Regions from separate parts of the Homo sapiens genome. Here all the other regions are linked to region 2. The links are contacts of gene promoters, found by promoter capture Hi-C in blood cells and fetal thymus (Javierre and others, 2016). All regions are on one chromosome and are shown on one strand. Each heading gives the region's core, a stretch centred on a gene start or on the middle of the fragment in contact. The rest is flanking DNA. Distances are from core to core; before and after follow the strand shown. Region 1 overlaps TFG (trafficking from ER to golgi regulator). Region 2 holds the start of CMSS1 (cms1 ribosomal small subunit homolog). Region 3 overlaps ADGRG7 (adhesion G protein-coupled receptor G7). Region 4 holds the start of ADGRG7 (adhesion G protein-coupled receptor G7). Region 5 has its middle 110 kb from the start of LINC00973. Region 6 has its middle 17 kb from the start of ADGRG7. Region 7 overlaps DCBLD2 (discoidin, CUB and LCCL domain containing 2).

Evidence for each region. The method cuts DNA at HindIII sites, captures the fragments that hold promoters and counts their contacts. A CHiCAGO score of 5 or more calls a contact.
Region 1: a fragment that was not itself captured here is called in contact with the fragment with the promoter of CMSS1 in region 2 in 4 of 17 cell types (fetal thymus, naive CD8 T cells, total B cells and 1 more); the score reaches 5.6 in fetal thymus.
Region 3: a contact is called between a fragment that was not itself captured here and the fragment with the promoter of CMSS1 in region 2, in 1 of 17 cell types (total B cells). The highest score is 5.6, in total B cells.
Region 4: a contact is called between the fragment with the promoter of ADGRG7 here and the fragment with the promoter of CMSS1 in region 2, in 2 of 17 cell types (total B cells and naive B cells). The highest score is 11.4, in total B cells.
Region 5: a contact is called between a fragment that was not itself captured here and the fragment with the promoter of CMSS1 in region 2, in 1 of 17 cell types (endothelial precursors). The highest score is 6.1, in endothelial precursors.
Region 6: a fragment that was not itself captured here is called in contact with the fragment with the promoter of CMSS1 in region 2 in 7 of 17 cell types (total B cells, fetal thymus, naive B cells and 4 more); the score reaches 17.1 in total B cells.
Region 7: a fragment that was not itself captured here is called in contact with the fragment with the promoter of CMSS1 in region 2 in 1 of 17 cell types (non-activated CD4 T cells); the score reaches 5.3 in non-activated CD4 T cells.

Annotation. Positions count from the first base shown.
Region 1 is chr3:100,720,416-100,723,485 of GRCh38, reverse strand. The region is part of intron 3 of TFG (trafficking from ER to golgi regulator); the gene reads right to left. Among named protein-coding and RNA genes, the nearest start is that of TFG, 12 kb to the right of the region's middle. The HindIII fragment of the contact is 1,488 bases long and covers 507-1,994 here.
Region 2 is chr3:99,816,061-99,819,220 of GRCh38, reverse strand. CMSS1 (cms1 ribosomal small subunit homolog) reads right to left here and starts at 1,359. Exons shown (of 10, transcript NM_032359.4): 1 at 1,178-1,359. The coding sequence starts at 1,241. It overlaps HP09053 (a long non-coding RNA gene), which reads left to right. Exons shown (of 3, transcript NR_110821.1): 2 at 247-301; 3 at 749-2,589. LOC105374010 (a long non-coding RNA gene) reads right to left here and starts at 1,359. Exons shown (of 5, transcript NR_189163.1): 1 at 1,178-1,359. RefSeq lists enhancers at 1,093-1,402, 634-1,508 and a silencer at 924-1,678. The HindIII fragment of the contact is 550 bases long and covers 948-1,497 here.
Region 3 is chr3:100,647,333-100,650,320 of GRCh38, reverse strand. ADGRG7 (adhesion G protein-coupled receptor G7) reads right to left here. Exons shown (of 16, transcript NM_032787.3): 11 at 514-626. Among named protein-coding and RNA genes, the nearest start is that of ADGRG7, 39 kb to the right of the region's middle. The HindIII fragment of the contact is 2,750 bases long and covers 133-2,882 here.
Region 4 is chr3:100,607,830-100,611,080 of GRCh38, reverse strand. It overlaps ADGRG7 (adhesion G protein-coupled receptor G7), which reads right to left and starts at 1,480. Exons shown (of 16, transcript NM_032787.3): 1 at 1,110-1,480. The coding sequence starts at 1,224. The HindIII fragment of the contact is 7,171 bases long and covers 312-3,251 here.
Region 5 is chr3:99,021,700-99,024,964 of GRCh38, reverse strand. No RefSeq gene overlaps it. Among named protein-coding and RNA genes, the nearest start is that of LINC00973, 110 kb to the right of the region's middle. The HindIII fragment of the contact is 187 bases long and covers 1,421-1,607 here.
Region 6 is chr3:100,590,942-100,594,231 of GRCh38, reverse strand. No RefSeq gene overlaps it. Among named protein-coding and RNA genes, the nearest start is that of ADGRG7, 17 kb to the left of the region's middle. The HindIII fragment of the contact is 1,719 bases long and covers 491-2,209 here.
Region 7 is chr3:98,891,945-98,895,200 of GRCh38, reverse strand. The region is part of intron 1 of DCBLD2 (discoidin, CUB and LCCL domain containing 2); the gene reads left to right. Among named protein-coding and RNA genes, the nearest start is that of DCBLD2, 8.1 kb to the left of the region's middle. The HindIII fragment of the contact is 3,386 bases long and covers 1-3,017 here.

The DNA.
Region 1 (3,070 bases), core at 1-2,500, 900 kb before region 2:
GATTTTTTTTAAAATTCCATTAAGAGATTATTTTAACCGATATATGTAGTCAATTTCTGTGTACTGTGATTAGTATTCTGTTCTATCTATTGAGCTTTCTACCTCTTTTATTCCGCCACCACTTTCTACTGAACTGAACAGGTACCCTTGTTTTCTTTTTTTCTCCTTTCCTGACAATGTCTAATTTTTCAATTATAACTCTTACATGTACACCATGCATACTTCTGCATATGTAGTATGCAATTAAAAAAATCTAAAGGTAATTACAATGTTCCTCCCAAATAAGTCCTTAAAATATTTTTATTCCTATCATCCCTTCCTTTCTTACATATTATTGCCCAGTATTTTTGTCCCAAATTGTTTTTATTCCCTAAGACTATTAATTTTGTAACAATCAATGCTCATTAAAACGTACACATAAATTTCATTGGTGCTTCCCAATCCCCTGACAGCCCAAGGTTTAAGAGTTAAGCTTCCTTGACTTTTTCTGTATCAATGGAAAAGCTTTTCTAAAATAGTTTTTGAAAGCATAGCCTACTGACCAAGCAACAGTTTATCTGCTCACATTGCTTCTTGCATCTTTCACCACCTTCTGGACTAAATTTCCTTCTTGATGAAGACCACTGTTAAAAATTATTTTAACAAGGGTCCATGAGTGGTAAATTCTCAGTCTTTCAAAGTATTTTTACTTCTCCTCATTCGTGAAATTTAGTGGAGTATAGGATGCTACTTTTCTAGTTATTTTTCTTTACTGTTTGCAACTGTGATAATACTGTCTTTTAGCCTCTATTATTACTATGAAGAAGTCTACTAACAGTCTAATTGTTTCATATGTGATCAGTCTTATTCTCTCTGGCTACTTTTAAGGTAATCTCTCTGTCTTAAGACATTTTCCAGTTTCATGACAATATGTCCAGTGGGGATTTACTTTTACTTATCCCTGCTCAAGGCTCCCCGTGCCTTCTGAATCTGAGGGTCTATAGCTTTTATATAACTCTGAAAATTTCTTTAGTCATTACCTCAATGTATTTCCACTCTCCCATTCTCTCCTTCTTGAAACTCTGAATAGAAATATTCTGGATGTTCTCATTTTCAACTTCTCTTTTGCCTGTGTTTTTGTGCTTTACTCTGTAATTTCTTTGGATTTCCTTTTCAGTTCACTAATTCTCTTTTTAGCTATGACTAATGTGTTTAACCTATCCACTTAGTATTTAATTTCAATGATTATATTTCTCATTTCCAAGTTACTTTAAGTTCTTTATAAAATCTGTTTATTGTTTTTCCATAATACAATAGCATCTTGCTCTTATGTTCTCGTTTTGTTTTGTTTTTTCTGAGATGGAGTCTCACTCTGTCACCCAGGCTGGAGTGCAGTGGCGCGATCTCGACTCACTGCAACCTCCACCTCCCAGGTTCAAGCAATTCTCCTGCCTCAGCCTCTCAAGTAGCTGGGACTACAGGCACACACCACTACAGCTGGCTAATTTTTTGCATTTCAGTAGAGATAGGGTTTTACCGTGTTGCTCAGGCTGGTCGCGAACTCCTGCACTCAGGCAATCCGCCCGCCTTGGCCTCCCAAAGTGCTGGAATTACAGGCGTGAGCCACCACGGCCGGCTGCTTTTATATTCTTATTCCTTCTTCTATGTCTTAAATAACTTTTAATTTTGTAGACTATCACATATCTTAACTGAAGTTGTTGAAAATCTAATCCTGCTATTAGTTGTGTCCAGTGGTTCTTGCTTACCTGACAGCTTCATGTGTCTTACGGTTTTGTCTGTGAGAAACCTATGTGACCTGGATTGAGAATATACCCCTCAAGAGAGATTTTGGCCTTTCTTCTGAGATTTTTCTAAAATGGTAACATCTGGGCTTGGGAGTTACCAAACTACATGGATAGTTTAAATTTAAACCCAACTCACCTAAGGACCACAATTATGAATCCTGAAGGGAGACTTCCCAAGCCCCTGACGGCCCAAGGTATAAGAGTTAAGCTTCCTTGACTTTCCCTGTATCAAGGTAGACTTTTCTAAAATATTCTTTTTGAAAGCATGGCCTACTGAGGGACTAGGACCAAGGGCCTACACCATGTAGACACCAGATGGCAATTCCTTAAATTATGCAGGCTAAAATCTCTACTATCACCACCAAGAACACCCCAAGTTTCAGCTTTTGGTACATCAGGCCTTTAGTTCCCTCTACTTTTTTGTTCCCTGGATATTTCCCTTACTTTCCTGTGCAAGCTGAGTTACAGAATTCAGAAAACACATTTGTAAGTTTATCTAGCAGATCCTGTTTAAAGTAAGGGTCTTCAGATTATCTAATCTGCTTTATGCCTAGTCAATAGTTAAGTATTTTACATTCAATACTGTAAAAAGATACCTTTATTTTAAATAATTTTAAACAGTTTTTGTTATTAACATTTAAATTCTGATTATTCATATTCATCCTTCCTAGATGGAGATGAAATAGATACAAATTAAATCAATAGACCATGATCATATTTCACACTGAACTCTAAGTTTCATGCAACAAAATTAAAAAAAAATAAAATTAATGCTAAACAAAACAACAAAACAGCCGGAAAAAGTGTACACATTTTATTTTTCACATAATCACACTACCATTTAACTCTGTAATCTTTTCTATCTTGTCCCTTAAGAGTTCTGCCTTGCATATCTATTAAGATCTAAAAGAAAAAATCTAAAAGATTAAAATTAGTCTTCTATTGGTTTTTATCAGAACTATTTTTAATCTTTAAGTACCCCTCGGGAAATACTGTCTAAAGCAAGGGTCCCCAACCCAGTGCTACTCTGTGGCCTGTTAGGAACCAAACCGGGCTGGGCAGCACAGCAGGAGGTTAAGTGGTGGGCTCCGCCTCCTGTCAGTTCAGCAGTGGCATTAGATTCACATAGGAGTGTGAACCCTATTGTGAATTGCACATGCAAAGTGGAAGAGTTTCATCCCCAAACCTTCTCCTGCCCCCTTCCATAGAAGAACTGTCTTACACGAAACCAGTTTCCAGTGCAAAAAGGTTGGCGACTACTGGTTTCAAGTATCAGACTTACATGT
Region 2 (3,160 bases), core at 110-2,609:
CAGGAAGTTTAATCAAGGAAATGTTGTATTGGCTACCTTTCTAAAAATGACATCTGCTTAGTTTGTACCTGAAGGCTTGACCTTCCGGAAACAATGCAACAAATGAAGTTGGTTATTTTTAATGGATATTTCACAACTAGTATTTCAAGATTGTTTGCAGCAAATAGGTATCAAGTGTCTAACATGTGCAGGGCCCTGTGGATGACAGAAGTATGAATCTGACTTTGGCCCTGTCTTCTCTTGTAGAGAAAAGAGGCAGACCTTGAGGAGTGATAAAAACCAACCAACCAATAATTGCATGGTAGGTGTGATGGAACTTAAAAAGTTCAAGGCTAGCCTGACATGGGGGGTCACTTAACGCTACTCTACTTGGGGATGAAATGCCCACTGCATCAGGAGTTGGTAAACACAGCAGAGCATAGTAGAAACTATTCAAATTGTGTTAACTGAATTCTAGTATTGTTTCTGAAAGGAGCTAGCTTTGTGAACTTGTCAAGTTACTTGACATCTTTAGGTTATGTTTCTCATCTGTAAAATAAGTGAGTTCAAAGGATGATCTCTATTTAAGCCTCCTTCCAGTTCTACTATTCCAAATTCCATGATAATGATGATGACCACAAGAAATACAGTAACTTATATTTACCACACATTATATGTCAAGCACTATGCTAAAGTGCATTACTGTACTAACTTCACTTAATCTTCACAACTTTACGAAATGGACATTATTGTTATCATTATTTTACAGATGAGGAAAAGGAGGCTAAACAGTATCAGAATACTGGAGTCGTGATTTGAATGGAGGGAGTCTGAAGCAGCAACCCCTGCTTCTGACCTCAGTCTGAATTGAAAGCAGTTCATGGGTCACCCTTAACCATCATACAAAGTTGCCTCTCTTCACAAAAACTGTCTTATCCATTCTCAAGAAATAAGGAAAAGAGAAAGCTTGTGGAAAGGATCCTTCCTGGCTGGCAGACAGATCTGAGTTAATGTCACAGCTGTCTGTTTCACGTGTTAAAGAATCTCTTGCACCATTTTCCCCGAGATGCTTGCGCGCTCCCAAGGCGGTGCACACCCCTGCTGGGCAAACACCGCGATCGCCAGAAGCGACCAGGGCTGAGGCGCACGGAAGGGCTCCGGGAGAGGCCCCGTAGGAGCGCGGGCACAGAGTGGGTACCTGGGCTGCTGCCTGCTCCAGTCGGCTGGTTCTCCCACCACTCGTCTCCGAGATCGTCTGCCATTTCAGCTCAGGTCTCGACGTGGGCAGAACATCACGGGTAGGCGACCAGCTGCGGAGAATCACGTTGTCTCAAAGCCAGGCGGCCGGCGTAGCTACACGCGGAGCTCCCGCTAGACACTGTCGCCTCCGCCCCGCGGCGATGACGTCACACCTCTGCCCCGCCTCTCCGGCAGCCGCTCCCAGACTCGTCGCAGTTTCCACACAGGCGCCGACAGGCAGAAGCAGTTTGGAAACGCAACATAAATCCCCCCAAAGCTTAAAGACAAAAAGGAACATAAGACGAAAGGGATTGTCATCGTTTTTGATAATGCATTTTAAAAAATTTTGTTTACGTGTTACGTTTCCCGATAAGATTGTGTCGAAAGTGTGAGACACCATGTGAAGACGATTTTTCTCCGCTCAGTTTCAAAGAACTTGCGCAGCGGGAGAAGACCCAAACATGTGCGTGTGTTTTCGCTTGTGCGTCAGTGTTTCAGAGTTTATGTGTTTGTACAGTTTGCTCTTAGAAAACATGCGCAAGGATCCATGACCATGAATGTCGGGCCTTTGTGGTAAATGTAGTTCTGCTATTTATGCAATATGAGTAAAGAAAATGTAATTGGCCTGGAAAGGCTCGCCCACAGAAAGACGCAAGTGGCTCGAAGACCCGCAAGTTGTTTTCCTCATACTCCCTCGGTTGTGTGTCCCACCCCCTATTTGGGAAACGAAGTAATAAGGGAGTCCATTGCTTCGTAACTATAGGTAAGAGACCCGCAGTGCCTCTTGTCTCAGTCCCAACGTGATTTGGCAGGGAGGGACTAGGAAAACCCGCTGGGCGCCAAGTGCTGGGGCTAGCTGTGAAGTAATTGTGGACGGTATTTTTCAGGACATCAAACACAGACGTAAAAATTATACAAAATGTAGTAAAAGCACGCAACGTGCCTGGTACTATGCATGGAATAGTAAGATGAGTCCATTCAGATGTTAGCCTACAGTAGTGGAAATTCAATTTGTAGGAATAAAGGGCTAGACTTCTAATAGGATACATCCTCGGAAATGACAAGACAGGGAAACTTAATCTGATGAGGCTAGGATTAGCCATATGTGGAAAATTACCCCGTGTGCACCCAACTCATAGATGTTTTATAAATGCATTACTGCCTAGACTTTGTCCGCACACTCTAAATGCCCCAAAAGGGAAGATATTATGTATAAATATGGCAAATGTAAAATAATCTATAAAGATCAAAAGTAATATGGCTTTTGTGAAGAAATGTAGATGACGAGATTTTCGTGATTAATAGATTTTTGAAAAAGATAAGAAATGCCAGTGTGGAAGAGGAGTTGCTATGGCTAATAAACATGAAAAGAATTCAGTCTGATTATTAATCTGGGAAATACAAAAAAAACACCACAGCGAGACCGTTTTTCAGGCAATAAATCACAAAATTAAGAAGTATGGGCCGGGCGCGGTGGCTCAAGCCTGTAATCCCAACGCTTTGGGAGGCCGAGGTGGGTGAATCACCTGAGGTCAAGAATTCCAGACCAGCCTGGCCAAAATGGCGAAACCCATCTCTACTAAAAATACAAAAATTAGCCGGGCATGGTGGCAGGCGCCTGTAATTCCAGCTACTTGAGAGTCTGAGGTAGGCGAATTGCTTAAACCCGGGAAGTGGAGGTTGCGGTGAGCCGAGATGGTGCCATTACACTCCAGCCTGGTTGACAAAAGCGAAACTCGGTCTCAAAAAAAAAAAAAAAAAAAAAAAAAAGAAGTCTGGCAATACTAAATTATGGAGTGTCTATGCATTAATGGGAATTGATACCTGTTTTGTACCATGAACTATGAATGGTCTTACATTATATTCCACCTCGCCTCAGCCTCCCGAGTAGCTGGGACTACAGGCACATGCCACCATTCTTGGTTATTTTGTTGTTGTTTTT
Region 3 (2,988 bases), core at 258-2,757, 830 kb before region 2:
TGAAGGGGTCAAGGTGGAGAGAAGTATTTGTTTATAGGTCATTATTTAAAATTAGAATTTAATGTATGGGATTCAAAAACTTTCACCATTTGAAAACTATATTTTTGAAAAACGTTTCACCATTTGAAAGCTTGATATATTTTTTAAATTACTTTTTTAAAAAATTGCTGTTTGCAATGTCTCTTTCCTTAACAAATACAAATTGCTAGGCATGGTTCTATTCAACACTGAGGAATTATAGCATTAATGAGCTGCAGGACCACATAAATTTTACATGACAAACTTGTAAATAAGTGGCATATAATTTTCTTTCAAGGCACTTGCCACAATTTGTAATTACGTATTTATTTGTGTGTATTTCTTAGCCTTTCCAGGCCTAAATGTCCTCCTCTGTAAAATAAGTACCTCTCTGAGTTCTTGCCTAGTTCAAAGACACTACTCATGAGAATTCTCAGAGTAAATTATATCAAGATAGCAATTTCTCTTCTGAAAAGAGCCTGCTTCTGCTCTTACCTGGTGACAATCTGAAATATAACTGTGAGAGCCAGACCAGTAACAGACAGTGCACATCCAACGTTGGATAATATGTCAAGTGATTTGGGATATTGATAATCCTTTTTGAAAGTCTGAAAAACAAGGTAAGACTCATATTTTTAATTAGTCATCCCTGAAGTGTTAATGAAAGTCAACATCACAGAGTTACATGGGTCAAAATAACCAGACAGTTGCCAGATATATCTTCCTTTTGTAAAGCTCATGATATATTTAAAAGCGAAATACATTAACCCCTTATTGCTGAGCAGTTTACCTGAAGTATACAGGCTTGAGAATAATTATCTAACTAATTCAGTTAAGGAAAAATATACAGTCATGTCTTGGTATTTGCAGGGGGACTGGTTTCAGAACAACTTGCAGATGCCAAAAGCCATGGATACTCAAGTCCTGCAGTTGGTCCTGTGCAACCTGCTGATGTGGAAAGCTGACCTGCATATACCAGTTTTGCACTCTGAAAATACTGTTATTTTCCATCTACGTTTCCTCATGGATGCAGAACCTGCCAATGTGGAGGGCAGACTTTTTTATTGAAAACAATCCACATATTAAGTGGACCCATACTGTCCCATGTGGTTCACAAGTCAACTATTTATACTTTTCCTTGATGTCTAAAATCAAAATTGTTTGAATTAGATCTAAATTGTCAAAAGTTGCCTCACTTATTCATGACATTATTTTTATGTGTAACTGGACTCTAAGTATATCTAAATTGATGCACTAAAAATAAAGTTGCAGAAATATTTTCATAAATATGGAAAGATGCTCATACCCTGTTAATTTTTTAAAGGAAGCCTTATTTTTATGTAATATAGCTATATATCTCTCAACATGTTTGCGTGTGTATATATATATGAAAATATGTACCATATGAGTATGTAATCTTAGAAATCTGGTGAGGTAGTGGTGGTGGTCACAGGGTGGGTTGGATATGTATAGTTCATTTTGCTTATCTGTACTTTCTGATTTTTTTAAGTTGTTAAAATTAGAAAAGCAATGTATTCTTATTTGTAAAATATGAAAGGAATATAGAGGCATAATAAAGAAGCATATGTTCCTTTATACTGCCTGCTACCCCACACCATACCTACCTCTTGAGAGCCTGTCTTTTTTTCTTACATGCTTAAAAATACTATCTATGTCTCTTACACAAACATACAGGGGTTTGCTAACATAATAGCATTATGCTTGAATTGCCATTTTACTTTTTCATAAACATTTTTCCATATCAGTATATTTTTGTTTGGTGCATACTTTCATGCTTTATGCAATGCCTGTGTATTGCTTTTATAGAAATAAAATAAAAACAAAATACACATTTAAAAATAAAACAAAAATTTTATGTTATTTCTTATACGTAGTGTACTAAGTAGATGCAAAAAGGATCGTAAGATTCATAGGTCTTCAGATTTTAAAAATAATATTTTTCACTCAGAGCCGATTTGCTCTTAATCATGCAATTTTAATCAGCCATTTAAAAAAATAATGCAAACCAAAACTAATTACAAATGTAGGTACGTAGACATTGAGACAGTCAGATACTAATGAGAAAAAATAGCTGAAAGCCTAACCTCAAGAAAGGGAAAAGATAACTATAATAAAGTAAACTATATCATTTAACATGTATAGCAACCTGAGCTTTACATAGCTCATCAATGATCCTATGACTTTAAGATATCAAAAAGTTAAATTTTTCTCCTGTATCTCCTGATTGAGAAGGCAGATCTCTCTGTAATACAAATTAGAAAAGAAATAATCCAAATGAATTTGAATAAGAGAGCTTTTATAATTAAAATGAGAAAACTACAGTTATCTCAAAAAGTTTTAAAAAGCAAGGTTCTGTGCTTTGATAATGCAAGCTATACCAGTATGTTCTACCAGTCTCCACTGGCTTCCCAAATATGGCTATATTATAGCTACTGGGGAATGAAAACATCTGCTTCTCCTTGGGAGATTCATAGCATTAATAGTCCCTTACTAAGGAGAAGAACACTCTTCATAATTCCCCATTCCATTGTGTATAAAAAACATTCCATCAAGTATATAAACTAACTTTTTTTTGTTTCACCGGAATAATAGATTTCTGGAAATAGAACATACAGAAGAAGCCCCTCTTCTTACAAAGGTCAGCACAAGAACCTTGAGAGACGCATGCACAGCTGCACGCCAGAGCTAAGTATTATCAGTTACTTGCACAGTATAGCTTTAGAGGTAAAAGAATTAAGGAATACACGGAGAAACTAGGGGACAAATTGAAGGGATTACAGAGTTTTTCTTTTATATCTTCTAGCAAAAACTTAGTAACCTGAGCAATTTCATTGGGAAAAGCTTTGGGTAACTGATTTAAACTGTCCACATACAGCTAAGTAAATATTGAACCTGTCTCTGGCACACAGCTATACAGCTTTACCTCTGGCTATAACAACTTTATGCTTC
Region 4 (3,251 bases), core at 231-2,730, 790 kb before region 2:
CTATTTTTGTTCTGGTAAATTTTCTCATTCTAGTTCTCTAAATACTATCGATACAGTATTCTCTAAATACTGGTTAGGGCGGTGGGGTAGGGGGAGGACAAATCCATCCCCAGCTACCACTCCATCAGCAGCCAGTATGTCAGATCCCTCTGTTGGTCTTCAACACTGGATCTTTGCAGCCATGCTCCATGCTCCTGCTAGCTCCCCAACCTTCTGTCCTCCCCAGTTACCTGCTCAGAGGGCATACTGCCTCTCCTGCTGCCTTTCCCGATCGGCATTATTTACCCTTATTTATTGTTTCATTAGAAGCTTTCTCTGATTTTCACGAAAGGGAGTATGTAGCCCATCCAACATTGAATTCCTTTACGGAGAAGCTCTACAGCCCAAGGGATCCAGCATTAGGATCATTGAAATTTCGCGTTCTGAGTTCCAGCGGGCTTTTCTTTAACATCATTGTTTTACTCACTACTTCCCCTCCCACGTCCTCCTTTTCCAGGCCAGCTCTGGCACACAGCGGGGGACTAACAAATGTTCGTTGAATAATCAGGAAAGTCATTTAAAAATGGTTTTTAAATTTTTGATTAGTTTCCTACATCTGGAAAGTGGGAAATTTGTATGCAAACCATGAGATCATTTCACTTAAACCTTAGTGATGAGTTTCTTTAACTTCTCTCTTAAAATGAAATTCCATTCTGTGTATGTTTGATTGTATGTGTGTTATGCATGTGTGTGTATGTGTTTGATGCATGTGTGTGTCCTTGTTCATAACGATTTACCCTTTCCTGAATTTAGCCAAACAGACCTAAATGTGTGTTACTAATCGTTTTAATTATTACTCTTCTACCAATTCAGTCTGGAGTTAAAAGAGCATAAAGAGGCCAATTCAATTATGTCACTCTTCCCCCTGCCCACTCACACCCACACCTATTCATTTCTATTCAACCATCTGCTAGGCTTAACTGACTTGGTCTTTTATATCCCATAAATGGCACCTTGGTGGAATGCCTCAGACTGGACAAGGTACCTCCCAGTACTTGTGCACCAGGTGGCAGGGACAGAGGTCCCATACCTTCTCTTACTCTGAGTTAAACATAGCAGGACAACATTACCTCTTTGGATCCTGATCACAATCCTCCAGATGCCCAGTCCCAAAATGATGCCAGTCAGTAGTCCACACACGACAGCCACCAGCACCCTAAGGTTCCAGGCACGGCAGGAAGCCATGGTGAAGCCAAACCACAAATCCACTCCTGGGTGAGAAATAACTAGCTTCTTTTCTTCTTGAGCTAAAAAGTTTAATCGGAAACTATTCTAAAACAGAAAAACAAGTCCTCCCCTCAGTGATCTGTCAGATGGATGTCTTTGTATTTTAGGACTTTTGAGGCTAATCCAGTAGGATGCAGTTTGAATCTCCTAATAAAAGGTGCATACTCTGCTTTCAATTTCCTCATCCTTCACTCAAGGAGAACATGAAAAAAGTGATTAGAGTTATGGGAATAGGGAGATAACTCAGGGCAATAAAGAAGAAGGGGAGGGACTAGCCACAAGGGTCAAAGAGTGAATGCCCAGACAAGCCACAGAGTGAAGGAAGGGAACAAAATAGAAGAAACCAAAGAGGAAATCACAAAGGCAGTGGTTGCCAGTAGTCACCTATGGCTCGGCTTCCTGTATTTTTGTCTTGGGAGGGTACAGCAGAGATAGACTGGCAGGTGCTTCAGACCACACAAAACACTCTCTCGGGGAAATGAACTAGGTTGTCAATAAGAGGATAAATGGCAATCACCACACATGGTTTTTAGCGCTTGCATTTCTTTAAGGAGCCTACATTTTGACAGATGCAGTTGGTGAGTGTGCATACTGGCACAGGCTGGGTCTTGACAAGCACTAAAGCCCAGCATGATAACCCACCTGCTATGGGCTGAATTGTGTCCCCTCCAACATTCATATGTTGGAGTCCTAACCTTCGGTACCTCAGAATGAGGCCTCACATGGAGATGTGGTTACTGCAGAGGTGATCGAGTTAAAACGAGTTTGTTAGGGTGGTCACTAATCAATATGGCTGGTGTCCTCATAAGAAGAAGAAATCTGAACACAGACATGAATACAGAAAGATGATCTGAAGAGACAGAGAGAGAAGACGGCCATCTACAAGAGAGAGTCCTCAGAAGGAACTGGCTCTGCTGACACCTTGACTTGACTTCTAGCCACCCAAACTGTAAGACAACAAATTTATGTTGTTTAAGCCACCCAGTTTGTGGTACTTTATTAGAGCAGCCCTGGGAAACTAATACATCATCAGAGTAACTACAAACTGGTGTCTCTCTATAGATGCAGCTCTGACCCTCTCCTGCCCAGGCTCCCATGTTCTCCTTCCCTACCCTCTACCCTTACAGGGAAGAACAGATACATGAACATTCACCTCCTCAATCACAGTTTTGTTTTGGTAGAGAGAACAGATGCTCTGGTCTTCTCTGGACACTCCCTTGCTTCATCAAATCCATATTAAATGCCTTTAATGTGTTTGAATTGGTACAAGACATGAACAGGGTCCTCAAAGAACTCATAATTTCTCAGGGGTGAGATACCTAGATATAGCCACCTATAAGGCAAGTCATAACTGCTAAAATAAAAGATCATCATATTTAATTATTATGGAGTGCAGGTGCTCCTTGACTTACAATAAGATTACATCCCAATAAATCCACCTTAAGTTAAAAAATATCTTAAGTCAAAACGCATTAAATATACACCTAACCTGCTGAACATCCTTGCTTAGGCTAGCCTACCTTAAATGTGCCCAAAACACATACAATAGCATAAAATTGGGCAAAATCATCTATCACAAAGCCTATTTTATAATAAAGTGGCGAATATCCCATGTGATATATTGAATACTGTAGTGAAAGTGAAAAACAGAATGGTTGTATGGGTACCCCAAACATGGTTTCTACTGAATGCATATTGCTTTTGCACCATGGTGAAGTTGAAAAATCAGAAGTGAAAAAAACCATCATAAATTGGAAACCTATGTACTAGCCCGTTACTACCTACATACCAGCCCATTAATTCCTTCAGGAAGTATTCAGCAAGGCTTTACCAAAAAAGGCTTTACACTTAAACTGACCTTTAGTTAACCCCCAAACACTATGGGGGTTTCCAATTCTCTGTGACATTCACTTTATAAATGTTTTGCTATAAACATAAGGCCCTAACTTTACCCCTCCCAAGAATTTCAGAAAAACAAATTGAGG
Region 5 (3,265 bases), core at 265-2,764, 790 kb after region 2:
GTAGACAGAGAGCCTGCCAACATTTTTCAAGTCCACTAACTGCTCCTTAATTTTTCTGCAGAGAGAGAGTGATATGAGAAGTAGATATCTGGTAACAAAGTGAGTAGAAAATCGTAGATTTTTCTGACTTGTAGCTTAGAGGCTTGTCTCTTCTCATTGTATTTCACATTTGGTTGTAATCTTCCTGAGGTTAGAATTGTAGATACTAAAACTTTTAGCACAGTGTCTTATATATAGTATACAAATTGCTGAATTCAATTTTCTGCACATTAACTTTCAATATTAAAATAATGGACTAAGGATAGCATAATTTTATGAGGATTAAAAAGAGAATATCTGACAAAGACACACTAACCTGAACAAAAAAATGTAAATAGTAATTTTAAGTAAAACCAGATTCCTTGTTGGCCAATAACATTGTAGCAGACAAACAGAAGTACAGAAATATTCAGGAGAAAATACTTGGAAAATAATTTGGTATGATATGGCTTCAAATGTCCAGATGCCAGGGCTCAGGAAATAAGAATGCCTTCAAATCTTTTAAACAATTAAGCCAATGCAATCATCTAGAGATCATTCAAAGTTAGTGAGATGAGATCTATCCATTGATATTTCTGGTAGAACAGAATGTGAAAAGCATTTGAGAGAGAAAGAAAGGATAGTGAATAGAAATAATAATATTTAGTATAAAACATGTTGATATAAAGAGTTTTCCCAAAATCCTATAGAAAACCTCTTGTGATACAGTAGGAATTCTTATTCAGTTCTTTTTACTGATTAAATCATAGCAAGGGGCCAAATAACTTCCTAATTCACTCAGCTACCACATGGCACATACAGGACTCTATTCTATATCTTTAACTACAAATTCTCACCTCTACTATATACTTCCTATTTAATTTGAGAGGGCACCACAGAGGGCCTAACCAGGCTGAAGACATGGTCAAATATTGATTTTGAATCTGTTGAATGAGGAATAGAAGTACTGATCTGAATAAAGTCAATAAAATAATCTCTGGTTATGTGATTACTTATCACTTTCCACCCCCACTGTTTAATCCTCTGTTATAGAATTAATTATCCTGGAATCACAGAATTAATGTGTGGTAGCTGAAAACTGAGATGGAAATTTGCATGCAACAGGCAATTGGGCTGGTTTTGAAACTTTGAGAAATACAGCCACCTGTTGGACATAGTCTGGTATCACACTCTGTTCACCATTTGTTTTTTAATGTTCTTTGAATGCGAAAAACTTTTGTTAATAACCAAAACGTAAAAAAAAAAAAAAGCATAATTGTCACTATTAGAAAAAATAAAGATGATTAAAAACAGTTGAATGTCTTATTTTGTCTGTTTAAAGAATGAACCTGTGTATTAATAATGTAATTTTCTAGATATAGTCTGAATAAGCTGAAAAGCTTTCATCATCATAAGAACCAATTAATAAATAATTTTTTTAAAAAAGTTATTTCCTCACAAATTAGTAAAAGTAGGAATTTGTTATTTTTTTCATTCCACTCCAGCACTGGCCTCTAGAGCAGCAGTTGGCAAATATTTTTTAATGTTTTTCAGATAGTAAATACTTTAGGCCTTGAAGGCCATAAGCTTCTTTCTCCTTTCCCTTTTATCCTTTCATTTTGGAAAGTTAAGCATCTTTATTTTACTTAATAAAAACTGTATATATTTAAGGTGTACAACATGGTGTTTTGATATACATATACTTAGTGCACTAATTACTACTGTCAAGCTAATTAACATATCCATCTCCACCTATTTACCTTTCTGCATTTGTGGTGAGAACACTGAAGATCTACTCTCTTAGTAAATTTCAAGTATACAGTACAGTATTATTAACTATAGTCCCAATGCTGTACATTGGATCTCTAGAATTTATTCATCCTACATAACTGAAACATTGTACCTTTTAACCGATGTCGTCTCATTTCCCCACCTCCCCAACAACACACAGCCCCACCCCACTCCTGCCCCTGGTAACTATCATCTACTCTCTGCTTCTAAGAATTTGATTTTTTTTTAGATTCCACATGTAAGTGAAATCATGTAGTATTTGTCTTTCTGTTCGTGTCTTATTTCACTTAGCATAATGTCCTCCTGGTTCATCCATGTGGTCACAGATGGCAGGATCTCGTTTTTTTTGAGGTTGAATAATATTCCATTATATATATATATACCACAGTTGTTTTTATCCATTGATCCATGACAGACACTTAGGTTGTTTCCACATCTTGGCTATTGTGAATATGTTTCTATTGCAACTATTCAACTCTGCTGATTTAGCATAAAAGAAGCCATACACAAAGGGAAACAAATGTGCATAGCTGTGTGACAATAAACCTTTACTGATAAAAACAGTTGACAGGCCAGATATAGCCCACAGGCTATAGTTTTCTTATACCTTCTTGTGATGGTTAATATTGAGTGTCAACTTGATTGGATTGAAGGATGCAAAGTGTTGATCCTGTGTGTGTCTATTAGGGTATTGCCAAAGGAGATTAACATCTGAGTCACTGGACTGGGAGAGGCAGAGCCATCCTCGGTCTGGGTGGGTACCATCTAATCAGCTGCCAGCACAGCTAGAATAAAGCAGGCATAAAAGGGTGGAAAGAGTTGACTTGCTGAGTCTTCTTGTCTCCATCTTTCTCCCATGCTGGATGCTTCCTGCCCTCAAACATCGGACTCCAACATCTTCAGCTTTTGGGCTCTTGGGCCTATACCAGTGCCAAGGGCTCTCAGGCCTTTGGCTGCAGACTGAAGGCTGCACTATCAGCCTCCCTACATTTGAGGTTTTTGGACTCAGGCTGGCTTCCTTGCTCCTCAGCTTGCAGATGGCGTATTGTGGGACTTCACTTTGTGAACATGTGTCAATACTCCTTTATAAGCTCCCCTTCATATATACACCTATCCTATTAGTTCTGTCCCTCTAGAACACCCTGACGAATACACTGCTCTAAAGGCCTTTGCGTTGGCTATTCCCTCTGCCTGAATCACTCTTCCCTCAAGTATTCACACAGCTTACTCACTCACTTCCACAAATCCTTGTTTAAAGTATCTCCTTTCCAATGAAGTCTACCCTAACTACTCCACTTAAAATTGCAATCTGCAACCTTGCACCCCATCCCAGGTCTAAGAAACAACCTCACAGGCCACTCACAACTGAAACACCCCCAGGCCAGCTGAGCAACTGTGCATCCATGCTCCTGGCCAGAGAAATAACCCCAGGACCACAACCCCAGAGATCCAAACC
Region 6 (3,290 bases), core at 101-2,600, 780 kb before region 2:
AGGGCAACTATAGTTAGCAATAATTTATCATGTATTTTAAAATAACTAGAAGAATCATCTTAGAATGTTTCCAACACAAACAGATGATAAATGTTTGAGATGATGGATATTTCAACTACCTAGATTTGATCATTGCACATTACATGCTTGTGTCGAAATATCATATGTACTCCATAAACATGCATAACCATTATGTATCCATAAAAAATTTTAAAAACCAATGATCACAAGACCAGTCCAGATTCATGCTACAAAAAGCACAAATTCAAGATGGCAGGATTCACTGGAGGCTGTGATGATTAATTTTATGTGTCAACTTGGCTTGGCCATAGTATTCAGATATTTGGTCAAAATTTATTCAGATTTTTTGTGAAGGTATTTTTTATTTAATTTTGTTAACATTGTCTCTTACATTTTCTCTAATTTACAAATAGCCTGGTAACAGAAGTTCTAATAAACTGAATTAAAATCCTAATGCTGAGCTGAAGCTTTACCTCATTTATAAAATTCCTTATTTTCCACTGATGATTCCCCTGATCATCTCATTTGTTCAAGATTTTCAAATTTTGGATGTTATTAATTTGCCTGAGTGTTTTGGAAGAGACTACCAAATAACCTACGATCTATCCTTTCCTTCTTTAAAAAAAAAAAAAAGAACTTTAATTTCAGGGGAGCTAATGGCCTGCAAGCAAGTCACGATTATTTCCAGCCTCCCTTGAAGCAAAGTGTAGTTATATGACTAAGTTTAGGCTATTGGAAAATAGGCAGAAAGGATGATTGCACCTTCCAGATTTCCAGATCACAGTAGAAATTACACATCACATTAGAAATTCCAGCCACTCTATTTTCCCCTTCTATAGTCTTGAATGCCGACATGGACATCTCAAAAAATGGTAGAACGATCAAACAAAAGGAGCCTGGGTCTTGAATGTCCTCCTAGATCAGAGATGAAGATGAAAGTATTTTATAGATGAGAATTAACACTTAACATTTAAGTGAGTAGACTTTTTGGATTTTGATTTTTTTTATTTTTTGACAGACTCTCGCTCTATTGCCCAGGCTGGAGTGCAGTGGCATGATCTCGGCTCACCGCAAACTCCGCCCCCAGCTCAAGTGATTCTAATGCCTCAGCTATCTGATTAGCTGGGACTACAGGCATGCACCACCATGCCCAGCAATTTTTGTATTTTTTAGTAGAGACAGGGTTTTGCCACGTTGGCCAGGCTGGCTTCGAACTCTTGGCCTCATGTGATCCACCTGCCTCGGCCTCTCAAAGTGTTGGGTTTACAGGTGTGAGCTACTCTTGCCCAGCCTTAAGCCAGTAGACTTTGAGTAAAGTGAATTACCCTTGGTAATGTGGGTGGGCCTCATCTGTATTGGGCCATTTTTGTGTTGCTATAAAGGAATACCTGAGGTTGGGTAACTGATAAAGAAAAGAGGTTTAATTGACTCATGGTTCTGCAGGCTGTACAAGAAGCACGGTGCCAACATCTGCTCAGCTTCCGGTGAGAGCCTCAGGAAGCTCACAATCATGACAGAAGACGACAGGGAGCCAGCATGTCACATGGAGCTAGCAGGAGCTAGAGTGACAGCAGGAGAGGTGATACCCTCCGAAACAAGATCTCACGCACTCAGAGAACTCACTATCACCAAGGGGGTTGTGCTAAGCCATTCATGAGGGATCTGCCCCCTGATCCAATACCTCCGTATAGGCTCACCTCCAACATGGGGGATCACATTTCAACATGAGATTTGAAGGGGTCACACATCTAAACCATATCATTATACAATCAGTTGAAGGCCTTTTTTTTAATTTTTTTATTTTTCCACAGTTTTCACTCAGTCACCCAGGCTGGAGTGCAGTGGTACAATCATCTCATCACAGCTTCAATCGCCCAGGCTTCCCGAGTAGTTGAGACTATTGGCACTGGCTAATTTTTTTTTTTTTTTTTTTTTTTGACACAGGCTGCCTATATTGCCAGGCTGGTCTCGAATTCCTGAGCTCAAGCAATCCTTCCGTCTTGGCCTCCCAAAGTGCTGGGATTACAGACATGAGCCACCATGCCCAGCCCAGTTGAAGGCCTTAATAAAAAAAGGCTAACCTTTCCCAAAGAAGAAGGAATTCCTCTGGGCTTGAACTGTAACATCAACTCTTCCCAGCCTGTTGTCTCAAATACATGCCTTATTTTGAATTCTAAAACATGAAGCTTAAAACTAATGTTAAAGTAATAAGATTGTATTAGTTTGCTAAGGCTGCTCTAAGAAAGTACCACAGGTTTGGGACTTGTCAGCCTCTACAGCCACTTGTGCCAATTCCTTAAAATCCTCCCCTCAAGCCTACATTTGTATATTGGTTCTGTTTCTCTGGAGAACTAATACAGGGGCCATTCTGCAATAAGAACCATGCATTTTACAGGATATGAAGGCCCATAATCCCCAGAAAGCTTAATAATAATGTATGATATTCAAGGATACTCAACGAGTTTGTGATCTAGTTAGCAAGCGTATAAAACATTAGAAGACACCAAAGACAACAATGCAGAAGTCACTAGTTAATAAATGATTTACAAGTATAAACATTGCCTCCCAGAGGAATGTTGGAATGACAAAAATACTGGTTAAGGACACTTGCCAACCTGGTGAGCCCATAAAATAGTATAAATGTATAACTAAGCCAAGTTGTCAGTAAGTTTCTCAACAAAGATAATGCATTTTATGGCTGGTAATAAAACTTGGGGTAGATAATATCTTCATCCCTGGCATTTGCCGTATTGCCCTCAGTGTACCATTTTCCATGCTTTATTCTGAAATCTAAAAACATTAAGCTTAAAACTAATGTAAAGTAATGGGGTTGTTTGAGTTTGCTAAGGTTGCTATAAGAAAGTATCACAAACGGAGCAGCTTAAACAACAGAAATTTGTCTCACAGTTCTGGAGGCTAGAAATTCCAGATCAAGGTATTGTCAGGGCCATGCTCCCTTTCAAGGTGTTAGAGAGAATCTGTTCCATGCCTCCCTCTTAGTTAGCTTCTGATAGTATGCTGCCAAACTTCGGCATTCCTTGACTTGTAGACATATCACTCCAATCTCTTCCTTTATGTCCATATGGTGTTTTCCACGTGTGTGTGTGTGTGTGTCCAAATTTTTATTTTTTATAAAGACATAAGGCATATTAAATTGGAAACTACCCTACTTCAGTATGGCCTCATCTTAACTAATTTGATCTGGAATTATCATATTTCCATATAAGATCACCTTCTAAGGTACTGGGGGTTAGGACTTCAAAATATGA
Region 7 (3,256 bases), core at 75-2,574, 920 kb after region 2:
TCCCTTTCACTCTGACTTAATCTAATGCCAGCATTTCTCACACTGTATAGTTCAGATATGAGACTGAGCTAATTTTATTCTTCTAAGATATAATTTCATGCCATTTTGCCTTGTTCCCTATACTAACCTCTTCATATATGCAGTTTCCTCTACTTGAAATGCTCTTACTTTCCTTGTCTTCTCGGTAAACTCTCGATCAGCCTTCAAAACCCTTCTTGGGTATCATCCCTTTATGAAGAGTTCTCGAACAGTCCCCACACACTCATCTCCGGATAATACATTCCACACTGTATTCTAAGTATTTATTCCTGCCAGCGGAGAGAGTTTTATTCATTTTCTTATTTCTAATACTTATCATAGTGTCTGTCATTCAAATTATGTGAATTAAGAACCCCATTTCTAGAGTTAATCTGCTACCCTGAGCACATTATTTGGTTCATCCCTTGGCACCGGCATGCACTTCATGCTGTTGTCCTTTGCCTAATCCCCGTAAATTAGTGGTCAGTTCAGGAGCCGGGAACAGAGCCATGTCTTGACCCTTACTACCTGTTTGCTCAGAGCCTAACAGTCTTCCCAGCCTTTCCCAGTCCCACCTCTTCCCAGGAGGAAGACTCCTTTGCTGCACACCCTTGACTATGAGAGGAATCCTTCAAGCTGAAATTCTGAAAATAGACATGCCTACTTCTTAGAAAGCTCTGCTCCCCTCAGATGGGTCATCCTTAACAACCGTGACAGCCTAAATCAGTGCCAGCAATTTGGGCACACTTTCTCCTTTGCATGCTTTCAGCTTCTGACTTCAATAGGCATCTCCAATATTATAAAAGTCCCCCTAGTTTTTGTTCTCGTAGTTGCCTGTCTCCTTTTTCTTGCCAGTGGATGTTGCTGGGGAGCATTCAGGTAGCTTCACTAATCTGGTGTAATAGAAAAGTAATGAGAAATGGAGGCTGGAACGTATTGTGGAGGACTTCCCATTGAGGGGCAGACTGAGGAGTTTGTATCTGCGATGTTAGGCCTGACATTAGCCTCAGGTGCTTCCTCTTTCACCTGGTTCATTTGTCTGTCACTAGGTTTGGTTATCTCTTCTCAACTCAGGCACCCCAAATCCATCATCTCAACAATGCTCTTTCCGTGATCTTGGACAGTTCCCAAACTTGGGCCCATGTGATAATCCCCATTCTCTGCTTTCTCTGGTTCTGGATAGCTCATAGTTACAAGATTAAGTCATGTGGTCATCGTGATTAGATCTGCCACAAATGAGGTCTGGCTAATCAAGTCCCAAGTGGGGATTACTGCTTAGCAGACTATCTCACTTTGTAAAGCTGATTTGTACAGCCGAACTCCTGCCCTGCTCCTAATCCTTGCACAGTATGACTTCCTCCTGACTGAAACCTTGTCCTCTTCCTCTTTATCAGAGCACTGCTACATTGGGGAATGTGAATTTTGTTTTGGCATGCTTTACACTTTGATGGCACTTTTACTTTATATCTGGAAACATGCTCAAAATGCCACTGGCTTTTACATATCTCTTTTTTCATTGCTTTGTGGTACCTTGTATCTCTGCTTTTTTCAGTGACGAGCTTTCTAAATGGTAATCTACATTTGTGCTGTATATTTTCTTAGTGACTGGCACACAGCAGATATTTGTTAAATTGTTAATTTATTTTTTAACCCTTGCAATAAAAAAGCAAGGGTTTTGTTTCTGCTTTACTGAAACTGTCATTTACACTGTCAGATTTTTGTTTGTTTTGGTTTTTGTTTTAGTTTGAAAAACCAAGCAGCTTTGCCTATCTTTATTATTGGTTTCTTTTTTTTTTTTTTCTTACTACAGTGGTCTTTGAAAATCTGGAGGCTTTGGACTTGGACATACCTGGATTTAAATAATAGCCTTGTTGAACTTGACATCCAGTTACTACTCTAAATATTTTAAAATATGTAACTCATCTTTCTTTTTAGACTGTAACGAGGGCTGGGATTGAATCTGGGTAGCAAGTAAATTTTTGTTCAATGAATGAATCAATATGTCAAAGAAAATTTTGTTTCATTTTACTCTGCAGTTAAAATTTCCATTTTTATATGTTTCCGTTCCACTAAGACTCACTTTTCCATCCCTCTTCCCTTTATCCCCAATTATTGTTCCACCCCCAGCTCAGTGAGAGGAGTCAGAGCATGCAATAGAGGAATGTGGCAGAAAGGCATGACTGTCTCCAGCCCACCCAAATCTTAATGTGAGTTCTGTGCTCTCCTTTTTGACCTTTGCTCTGCCTCTTCAGCCTTCTGCCTGTTGGTGTGCTTCAGTGTTTTTTGATCCCCACCATCTCAGATCATTTTATCTCTTCTTTCCTGATATACCTTTGTTTCTGTCTACTCTTGGCATCCTAAAAGCCAGCTTTATAGGTCTGGATGTGAGGTGGACATTCTTTTGCATGCATGGAGGAAGAGTGTTTTAGTTAGGACTTTTGAGGTTATAGAGAACAGAAATCCATATCTGATTAAGGTAGAAGGAGAAACTATTGGGAGGATTGAGAGGGGAAGGCAGGAATGCAGCTAGACTTCAGGAACCAAGGACTCAGCTTAGTTCTTCCCTCTTGTTTCAGTCTGGCTTTCTCTTTGTGGAAGGAATCATGGCTGCTGGCAATCCCGAAGGCTTACGGTTTTAACACGGAGAAATTCTGTATTTTCCCTATTGTACAAGGTCCAGGAAAGGGTGAGTTGGCCCTCACATTGACCCAGTGTGATTCAGTACCCACCCTTGGACCAGTCAAATAACCAGGGGGCATGAGGTCATATTAAAACTGTTGGGAAACTGCAGAGCACCTTCCAGAGAAGGATAAGGCAGGGTACTAGATAAACAGAGGCATCCTCTTCTAGGAGAAAGAGTGTTACATTTATAAAGAGACCACTGTATTTTAAAGAAGTTCTTACTGAACCTTTACATTTATCTTGGGAGATGGGTGGTGGTATCCTCATCCGTGAGGTAGTTGCATCCTCACCAGTATACTGGTTAGGGTATGTAAGCTTGTGGCAGTTAAGTGTCCAGGATCTTGAAAACTGGCATGTCTAGAATTTGAATCTAAGTCTGTTGGACTCCAAAGCCTATGTACTTTCTAATGTGTTAGTTGTCTACCATAACATTAGTTTAGGCTTATTTCTCATTCAACAGCATGTGCTAAGAGCCTTGTATGTTTTATTTCTGTGTGTATGCTTATAAAGGTGAGTAGAATGCATTGCCTTTCTAACCAAATTTTATAGGTTGGTA